Linked DNA regions of Homo sapiens: region 1 is linked to region 2. The links are contacts of gene promoters, found by promoter capture Hi-C in blood cells and fetal thymus (Javierre and others, 2016). All regions are on one chromosome and are shown on one strand. The core of a region is centred on a gene start or on the middle of the fragment in contact, and the rest is flanking DNA. Distances in the headings are between cores, read along the strand shown.

Region 1 (4,796 bases), core at 584-3,083, 1.0 Mb after region 2:
TTGCTTGCTTTATTCCTTTATTTTGTGGTAATTTGGCAAGAAATGTCATGCACTTAAGAATTTGTTGTAGATTTGAAAATAGTATGCCTAAGGTTTTGTATCTGCAATTTTTCCACCTCCACAGAAGAGTCATCAGAATTTGATGTGAGGGCTTTCTGCAACCAGCTGAAACACAAAGCTACTCAGGTTTGTCTGGCTTCATTAAATTTAGCTTATGATTTCTGCTAATTTGTAGAGGATGCTTCTTACCAAGGGCAGAGATTGAATCTTTTCATTTTATCCCCAGCTCTAAGCTTAGTGCCTTCTTAGTTGTCAGTGTGTGCTTCTGAATGAATAGAGGCAAGGGATTTTTAATACATCTAGTTAATTCAGTTAATAGAGTACCTTCAGAAATATTTTAGTAGGAGTTTCTCTAGAATTTTAAAGTAACCGTAAGATCTGTTGTTAAGTATGGATTGTACTGCAGCTTAAGAGTATAGGCTTTGCAGTCAGACAGTTGGTTTGAATCCTGGCTTTGGTACTAGCTGTGTGACCTTCTGTGAGTTTCCTGATCTCTCCGTACCTCTATTTTGTAATAGTAATATGTGCCTCATAGGGTTGTGCTAGTTTTAATGCATGTAAAGCGTTCGGTAGTCTGGAGTATGGTAAGCATTTAATTGGAGTTAGATGTTATTAGCTACGGTCATTTTGGTCATCATCCTCATCATTTTGTCATGAAGCTATTCCTTTACTCCTGTTGAGGTTCAAGTTTTAACATGATTGATTAATGTCTGTAAATTCTGTTTGTTCTGGACCTAACAGCATATAAGTACATCGGCATTACTGTTTTACTCAGTAACTTGACTTTTTTTTTTTTTTAACCCTGTCTTTGCAAAATGTCTACTTCTGGTATTTTTCATGGGTTAGTTTACTTCTTTTATTTAAGAATTCTTAAACATATTTTCTTGAACTTAAGGACTCCAGCTTCCATTGATGTTCTGTCCAATTTATGAATTCAGAGTGAGGAGTAATACTTTCTGTGCCAGGCATTGTTCTAAGTGCTTTTATATGCATGAAGTCATGTAATTATATCACAAAAGCTCTGTGAGGTGGGCATGCTTATTACTGTTTTCATATTTCAGATGAGGAAACTGAGGCATAGAAAGGCCAAGAAACTGCCAGGCCACATAGTGAATAAATGGTAGAGCTGCGATTTGAATGCAGGCAGTATGGTTTCATAGTCTTTCTTCTTTACTATTCACCAGTCCCCAGAACAGTTTTTCAACTGTATCTCAAGAACTATGGTGCTTTGTGAACCTTGAAACTTCTGCAGCCTGTGCACCTGTTTGTAGGTGAGCTGGCTTTGAAGTTGGTGGGTCAGCATCCCTCTTACTCAAAACTAACTGCTACTATATTTTTAGCAAATAGCACTAACTTGCTTAGCTTTAAAGCAAACTACTTCTATTGATCACCAAACATAAACTATTGACCTGGGTCATTACTTTTATATTTTCTACTTTTTTTTAAAGTTCCTTTTGAGTGTAAGAAATTTGGAAGAAGGTAAGCTTTGAATGAAAGAGCAGATCATCTCGTAGGCAGCATATTTTCATAAAGAAATAGTAAACGTTAGTAAAATCCAAATGTGACTTGATATAGAAAGAAGGGGTTGAAGAAGTAAAGGTGCCTTGTCAGAAGATGGTTGAAGTAGAATTGGAAGTGTTGCTCAATTGAGCATTTTTAATAGATATTCAGCAGGCATTAACTGATTAATGGGCTTATTCTGCTGGGCACTCTGCAGGGCCCCATATCTTCCCTGTTTTCAGAAACATTTCTAAATTGAGGAGGTTTGCCCAGGATACGGAAATAAGTGAAAAACAAGTCGTGATAATCTGGTGGTGTAGCGAAGAGGGGCCTTTCAGTGATCCCCCAACCCTCTGCAATTAGGCTTTGACCAGTATTTAATCATGTGGGGTTTTTTTATTGTGTATGTGAGATATGTGTGTTAGGATATTTATGTTAACTTTCCTATGTCAATCTAATTCAGCTGCAGATGGGACCTGTCCTGGTACAGAGGGGGAACAAAACAACTTGTATTTGGAGCAGTGGAGAAAAATTCAGTTTTTAAAGACATAAGGAAAGCTTAGTGAGCAAAAAAATTTCCTTACAGACTGATTTTTTTTTTTTAATTTTTAGGTTTTGTGGGTACGTAGCAGGTATATATATTTATGGGGTACGTATTTTGTTATAAGCATATAGTGCATAATAACCACAGGGTAAATGGGGTATCCATCACTTCAAGCATTTAGGGACTGATAATTCTAATTTTTAAATTTTGATTGTGAGCTAGCTTTCCTTGTTGTCATATAATTACAAGTCAGTAACATGTCCAATATATTTTTCTCATCTTTCCACGTTTCAGGAGACCAGTTTTGATTTTAAATGTTCTCAATCCAGACTAAAGACAACCAAGTATTCTTCTCAGAAAGTGATAGGAACTCCTCATGCCAAAAGTTTTGTGCAAAGATTCCGAGAGGCTGAGTCCTTCACACAACTTTCTGAAGAAATCCAGATGGCAGTTGTATGGTGCAGGAGCAAAAAACTCAAGGCTCAGGCCATTTTTCTGGGTAACAAACTTCTTAAAAGCAACCGGCTTAAACATCTGGAAGCTCAAGGTACTAGGTAGGTATATTGCAAAAATTATGTTACTTTACTTTTTCTGTTGTTGTTATGAGTAAAAGTATTCAGGTCACTTTTCTTTAAAATGTGATGTCCAGCAGCCGCAGCGGGGCTAAATTGGGATGTACTCAAACTGCAATTGCATTTGCTGCTTTTATTGTAAGAGCAAAGCTGTATCATTGGAGGAAGAAGATAAACAAGTTAATTGGACTTCAGTCCCCGTTATGCTCTTCATCATTTCCATCAGCTCATTCAGGAACCATTAAGAGTGTCTAGTGTGCTGAGCCTGAGGATACAACTGCATAAAGACGTGACTTGGTCTTCAGGGAGCTCAGGGTCTTCTGGGAAAGGCAGCCCTTCTGCAGACAGCTTCAGTGCAGTGCAGTGGGATAAGGGCATGAGAGCAGAAGCAGAAGGTGCCTGCCTTCCATGAGGCCCACACAAGACTGCTGGGGTGTTGTACTGTTGCTACTTGCTACTGTTTGTAGCAGCTGGACTCTATCTATATTTCTTTTCTGTGATTTTTATATTCACAACTGTTTAAGGGTGCTTATCTTTGCTTGTGAACCAGTATTGCATGAAGTATTACATGAATTTAGACATTAGACACTTCAGGGCTTAACGGTAATGATTTCAGACACAAATATGTATTAAGAGCCTATTCCACCTTCACAGAGGCAATTATTCTGACCTGTTTTTTATTGTATTCTTTAACAAATATCCTGTGCATGCCCCATAATTTCTTATCCATAGTTTAGAGCTATTCAGGGATTTAAAGTTCATTCCTGGGGATGAACCACGTATTGAAAATTTGTTAAATTTTCTTTTAAAATTTGCATAAAATATATTCCTGTTTTAGAAAAAAAAAAGTATACAGTGAGGGTTTTGTAACACATTTTGATTAAAAGCTATGGGGAAAGTGGTTGAATATTCCTGAGGGATAAAGTGCTTGAGGGGTTTTTACATTGAGATGGCTCCTCTAAAGGTCTGTAATAATCTAAAAGTGATGTATCCTATGGCTGGAGACGCAGCCTGAGATGGAGAGAAGCATTCTGTTTAAAATTGGGTTTAAAATCAAGGGTAGATGAGGCAGAGGTAACAACTAAAAGTTAATGAGAAGGGTAGCAAACTGGTGTTTATTGGTTAAACCATTACTCAGTACTCCCCCAGATATAGTGCTCCTTCATAGATTGCCCTGTTTTGCTGTTTCATTAATATATTTGTAGTAAACTTTATAATTTATTTAATGTCCATAATAACATTGTGAGGTAGACAGTATTATTCCCATTTCATAGATGGGTAAATGGAGGATTTTGCTCAAGGGGTTAGATGTGGAACTCAGTTCAGGCCCTCTGTTTTCCTTTCAACTCTGAAGTACACCCACCTTCTCCCCACTTAAAAGCCACTGCTTATAGTGAGATAAGAAAATGGTATGGAAGCAAAGATCATGATTTACTTTATTATAATGGGCTTCCTCAAAGTTTTATATCCATGCCCGTCTTTTAAAATCTATCACAAACAGTGAAACAATTCAGCAAGGCACTGATGAACCTTGTGGCAGTGTACCGTGTGTGGAAGCAAAACACCTAAAATGATCAGCTGTTTGATTTCTGAATTTCCAAACTTGAAGATGACATATGAATCATAATTAGGGTAGCTTAAGGCTGTCTGTGTATCTGGGCCAGAAGCCCTGTCTTCATATTGTTTTATAAACCCCTCTTAGCCTTTATTCCTTTTTCCTTGTTCATTTCCTGCCACAGCATGAAGCTGATTATCCAGATTCGGATTAATACGTACTGGCAGATTTTTTCATTTGTGATGTTTCCTCATGTCCACTCATTACATTATGAACAGATTAGCAGTTATGAGGGAAAAGCTCTGACACTAAAGTATAGGGTATCTCGCCATTCAGCTAATTGCTAGGCGGCTGTACTTTTGAGAGTTTGAAAGCAAAATGGGGACACATTCGTCTACACTTCAATCAGAGGGCATTTGTGCTCTCAAAAAACAGACTTGGGGTGAAATTTTTCGATGTGGTTCTGGGATTGTACACAGGCATAGGACTTGTAGATAAGTTGTGTATTTTTCTTTTCAGTTGGTAAATTAAAAGTGCTTGAGAATGTTTTTCTCATCTTAAGCCC
Region 2 (5,013 bases), core at 1,690-4,189:
CACATACACATATTCATGTACATATTTTTAAAAACATGCTTTGAGAGTGATTATTTCCTTTTTTGCCAAGGAAAGTTCAAGAAACAGATCAACAGTCTCCAAAATACTAACTAGTTTTTATTTGCCTTTATCATGATCCCTTCCCTTTTCACTTGTTGTGGGTCTGCTCTAATATTTCTGGTGTCACAGATGGCATTCCTGAGAAAGTCTTAAGGAAAAACCCTTAAGAGTGTAAAGACAAATGACAGGCTGTCAGTGGATCTGTACCTTTACAAGGACTAACAAAGATTCCCTGCACTTCTGGCAACACCGTACCTGTCCTAACACTTCCAGTGCGACCCACCACCTCCACTCTTCATTTATCAGGAGAGAATGGATTTTTAAATGTTTCCTAGCTGGATTCTCTACATACTGCCATGGAAATGTCCAAAATTTCCTAAGGCAAAAGATGGTCATATTTTTTGTGAAAGGAAAGCTGTATATATAAGTACACATCAGCATCTCTTACCCCTCTCTCCCACACATGTACACTTTCTATAATCATAGTATATGCATAGAAAAATGACTGAAGGACTTTTAAACAATGTGGTGCATTGAGCTGACTCAGAAATGACACACAGAAATGAAGAACGCTGGCCGGGCACGGTGGCTCACGCCTGTAATCCCAGCACTCTGGGAGTCCGAAGTGGGAGGAACACCTAAGGTCAGGAGTTCGAGACCAGCCAGGCCAACATGGTGAAACCGTCTCTACTAAAAACACAAAAATCAGCCAGGTGTAGCAGCACATGCCTGTAATACCAGCTACTCCGGAGGCTGAGACAGGAGAATCACTTGAACCCAGGAGGCAGAGGTTGCAGTGAGCCAAAATCATGCCACTGCAGTCCAGCCTGGGTAACAAAGCAAGATGCCGTCTCAAAAAAAAGAAATGAAGAACGCTACAATTCTAGAAAACAGTAAATGAAGATTTTTCCAAGGCATTCGGAAATCGTTACACCATTTGGTAGGGGGAAAGAGATAACGACGACGTTAAACTTTGTTGAGTATGTGTGTTAAAAATTCAGAAGTAACTGTTAAACGATTAATGACAGAATGCATAATTTCCAAACTCACTGGAGAGGGAAGTGGGAAGATAAAGAAAAATGAATTAACCTAATAAAAGGCAAGAAAGGAAAAGAGACCAAAAAAAAGAAATAGAAAACACAAAATAAGATGGTAGAATTCCAAATGTCAGTAATCACAATAAAAGTTAAATTAATTTCACATATAGAAAGACAATAATAGCAACTAACATTTATCGGGTATTTACTATGTATTAAGCACTGTTCTTTATATATTCACTCCATTAATCCTCAGATCAAATGCATAATATAGATACCATTATTATCTGCATTTTATGTATGATAAACTGAGGCTGATAAAATCCCCAGCTGGTAAGTGGCAGAGCAAGGACTTTAATTATTGAAGTCTAGTTTTCAGCGCTGTACTCTAATAGGCTGGGAGCTTATTAGAAGTTCCATCTGGTACACAAGCACATTATAATCTTAGTTTCCATTTTGCTATAGTGTTCTTCTTCTTTTCCCTTTCTCCCTCCCGCCTCTAATCCATCCTCCCAGTCTCTGCAATCTTTCTCCATTCTCATACAAATATTTAAACATACTTGCATATGGGAGGGAGTGTTTTGGTCAGGGTTTGCTTTTACAAAAATGGAAACATATTATACTATAATATATGCACTTCTCTGCAATTTGCTTTTCTCTCAAGAATAAACATTAGACGTCTTTCCTGAAGAAGAGACATAAAGCTAACTTACCCTTTTGAAAAAAACTACTTCGTGGTACTGCATAGTTTGTATGAGCACAATTTATTCAACCGCCTTTCAGACAGACCAGTTACAGAGCTGGTCCTAGGATCGCTGCAACAGTCCGAGGGCATAGCTTCCCTAACTTCATTTTCACCAATTTCAAATCAACTTTAGTTTACATTTCCTGGCAGAATGCTTCACATACATTTATTTTTAATCATTACAACACTCCAGTGATTCAGGTATTATCGTCCCCATTTTGCATGAGAAAACAGGGTCTCTGAGTTATTAAACAAGTTGCCTAGGGTCATATAGCCACAAAGTAGTTGAATTCAAAACTCCTGTTCTAAATCTTTACTCTGCTTTATAAGCCCATTTATCACCCCTAAATGGGCTGTCTCTGGAAACACCTCGGCTAAGCCAATAAGCCTGGATTTATCTTTGCTCCATGGGCCATCTCCATGGCCCCAGACCTCCCTAGGCACCTGGCTCAGAGATTGAAGACGGTCCCACCCTCCCATGGGCAGTTCGGAATAAAAACTTCCTGAAAACTCTACCTTTCAGCAGAGGCTAGTCGAAAGGGGCCCTTTTATCTCAGAGGTGTCGGCGACGCTCACACGATTTATGAGAATCTGAACTTACAGAAACCAATCCACCAGGACACCCTGAAAAGGGAAGCAGAGGAGACATGGCGGGAGTACAATCACCGTTACTGCAACACAACCAGGAAGCGTCTGGACGCGACGTGACTCATCCATCTCTAGCAGCTCCCACACCAGCAGGGCAAAGGGGCACTTACCTGCCAACAAACCATTCGACTCTTTCAGTCTTCAGACCCCTCAAACTCCTCACAGTTCACTACCACGTGTTGCAAAATTCTCTGCCCCAAAATCACTGCCTCCAGTGCAGAGCCAATCAGGGAGTACTGCGTCATCACTGGGCGCCAGAAAAAAAGCAAAGCCGACATTCAAGCGAGCCTTGATGACGGCAAGAGCGAGGGACCTCTGCCGTTGCTATGGTAACTGAGCCAACGCGAGCGGCCTGCGCAGAGCCTCGTGGGAGTGGTGGTTCGACGGTGTCCTATGCCTGCTTTCCTTGCGGGCGGAGGAACTACAATTCCCAGCGTGACCCGGAGGCAGCCCGGGCAGAAGGGCGGTTGCTGCAGCTTTGGCCGAGGTTCGGGCTCGAACTTGGAAAATGCTCCTGGCGCCTCAGGGAAGGTCCTTCTCAAAGAAAAGGATGGGGCTGAATCGCTGGAAACGGTTCACAAGGAAGCCGAGTCCCAAGGTGATCCCAATCGAGAGCTTTGGAGGGCGGGGACTTTCCCAAGGCGCGGCGCAGTCAGGAAGCCAGTCGCGGCCCGTCTGTGCTTCCTGCCTCTTCATCCTGAGCTGACACGCCCCTGCCTTGACCGCCCCAAAGCCAGCATTACCCTGAGTGAAATGCTCTAGGAGCTCTGGGGTCTGGGCACATTACGGCTTTGGTGGGCAGCATCGTGGAAGAACTGTTTGTAACGCTTTTCTAAAACCGGAGGTGTCTGCTAATGCCCATCGGGGTGAAAGGAGTTTGCAAACTCCGTTCCCCCTACCTTAAATTTTAGGAAACTTCTCGCACATTTCTTTCTTTTTCTCTCTCTTTTTTTTTTTTTGCAAATCTTGGGGTAATTGATCTTTATTAACGGGAGAGAGCTTCACATTAAATACCCTGCCTATATTCCTGCCCCTTCACTTTTACGTAAAGTATCTAAATAAACTCAGGAGTGCAAATGGATATTGAATACATTAATACTTGATTCACATAGTAATTTCTAAATTCAACCAACTTTCAAAAAATAGATTCTCTCCGTATCTATCACCCATTTGGATGCATTAGCACCTGAAGATAAGAAAAAAATAATAACCCCATTTTAAACTTGAAACATATGTGACATGTGCAAAGTCACAGTTGCACCGTGTGCTTTCCACAGACTACCTTTTTAACAGTCCCCAAAAAGATGCTTAAAATCTAAATGAGAGTACTAAAATGGAGAAGCTTCTCAGCTTTCAGCTACAGAGCAGTTTCACCAGCTGTTTTCACCCTTAAGTTATACTTTCCTAAATAATATTCTGTAGATGTATGTGGCCTTTTTGAGGGCCCCAGGCGATTGTTCTTGCGATTTATTCTAAATTTACCAGCTAAATGCATTGGACATATTCCACATGACAAATATGTTGCCCTAGATACTAGAGGGCACAGACTGAAGCATCAGGGAGACTTGGAAACTGAGGCTGCTGCTATTTCAATACATCAGTTGCATAATGTATTGGATCCAAGATAGGATATAGATATGGACTTGATGATGAAAGGTAAAAATTTAGAATAATTTCTTAGGACTCCAAAAGGAAGGATTTTTGCTGCTAGTGCTCATTATTACTGCCTAGAGAAAAAAAGGTAAAAACATAGGGCTTCTTCAAGTTCAGTTGTATTTTAATTAGATCAGCTCTTTCTTTGTTGCAGTGACAAAATTATTAAGCAGTACAGCTGCGTTAGTTATCAGTAAGATGCTTTGAAGGTAAAGTGTTAGGTAAGTGAAAGAGTATTATATTTTTCCCACCTCCATGTGTCAGTATGCTAGTTTAGATATCCCCTTATTTTATTATTATTATTATTATTATTATTTTAAAGAGTATATTTGAGTAAGAAGCAATTCATGAACTGGGAACGCCAAACCAAAAGAGATTTAGTGCTCCAATGACAAATCATCAGGATATCCCCTTATTTTAAAAACACACCTGAATTTTTAGTGAAGAAGATAACTCTATTTGTTAAGTGACTATTAGAGGGAATTCTGCAAGCTTCTGGGAGTTTCAGAGGTTGAAGAAAGGAAATGTCCTGATAGTTTTACTTCTAATTTCAGATTAATACCTGACTGATCTGGGTGGAAATTTATATTTTCTGCTTTGTAAAACAGTAAAAGTCAGATTGATTAACCCTCGCCCCATTCCCCAGTTTTTGTTGTTGTTGTTGTTTGTTTGTTTGTTTGTTTTTGAGACAGAGTCTCGCTCTGTCGCCCAGGCTGGAGCGCAGTGGTGCAATCTCGGCTCACTGCAAGCTCCGCCTCTCGGGTTCACGCCATTCTCCTGCCTCAGCCTCCTGAGTAGCTGGGACTACAGGCACCCGCCACCACGCCTGGTTAATTTTTTGTATTTTTTTTTTAGTAGAGACGGGGTTTC

The links. Contacts are between HindIII fragments. The CHiCAGO score rates a contact against its expected background, and 5 or more counts as called.
Region 1: a contact is called between a fragment that was not itself captured here and the fragment with the promoter of CCDC191 in region 2, in 1 of 17 cell types (neutrophils). The highest score is 5.9, in neutrophils.

The regions. Positions count from the first base shown.
Region 1 is chr3:113,006,033-113,010,828 of GRCh38, reverse strand. It overlaps RMP64 (ribonuclease MRP subunit p64), which reads left to right. Exons shown (of 9, transcript NM_015412.4): 7 at 125-186; 8 at 2,399-2,658. Among named protein-coding and RNA genes, the nearest start is that of NEPRO-AS1, 11 kb to the left of the region's middle. The HindIII fragment of the contact is 574 bases long and covers 1,547-2,120 here.
Region 2 is chr3:114,054,452-114,059,464 of GRCh38, reverse strand. It overlaps CCDC191 (coiled-coil domain containing 191), which reads left to right and starts at 2,939. Exons shown (of 17, transcript NM_020817.2): 1 at 2,939-3,088. The coding sequence starts at 2,999. It overlaps QTRT2 (queuine tRNA-ribosyltransferase accessory subunit 2), which reads right to left and starts at 2,728. Exons shown (of 10, transcript NM_024638.4): 1 at 2,601-2,728; 2 at 2,359-2,466. RefSeq lists enhancers at 180-679, 2,788-3,197. The HindIII fragment of the contact is 7,070 bases long and covers 1-3,834 here.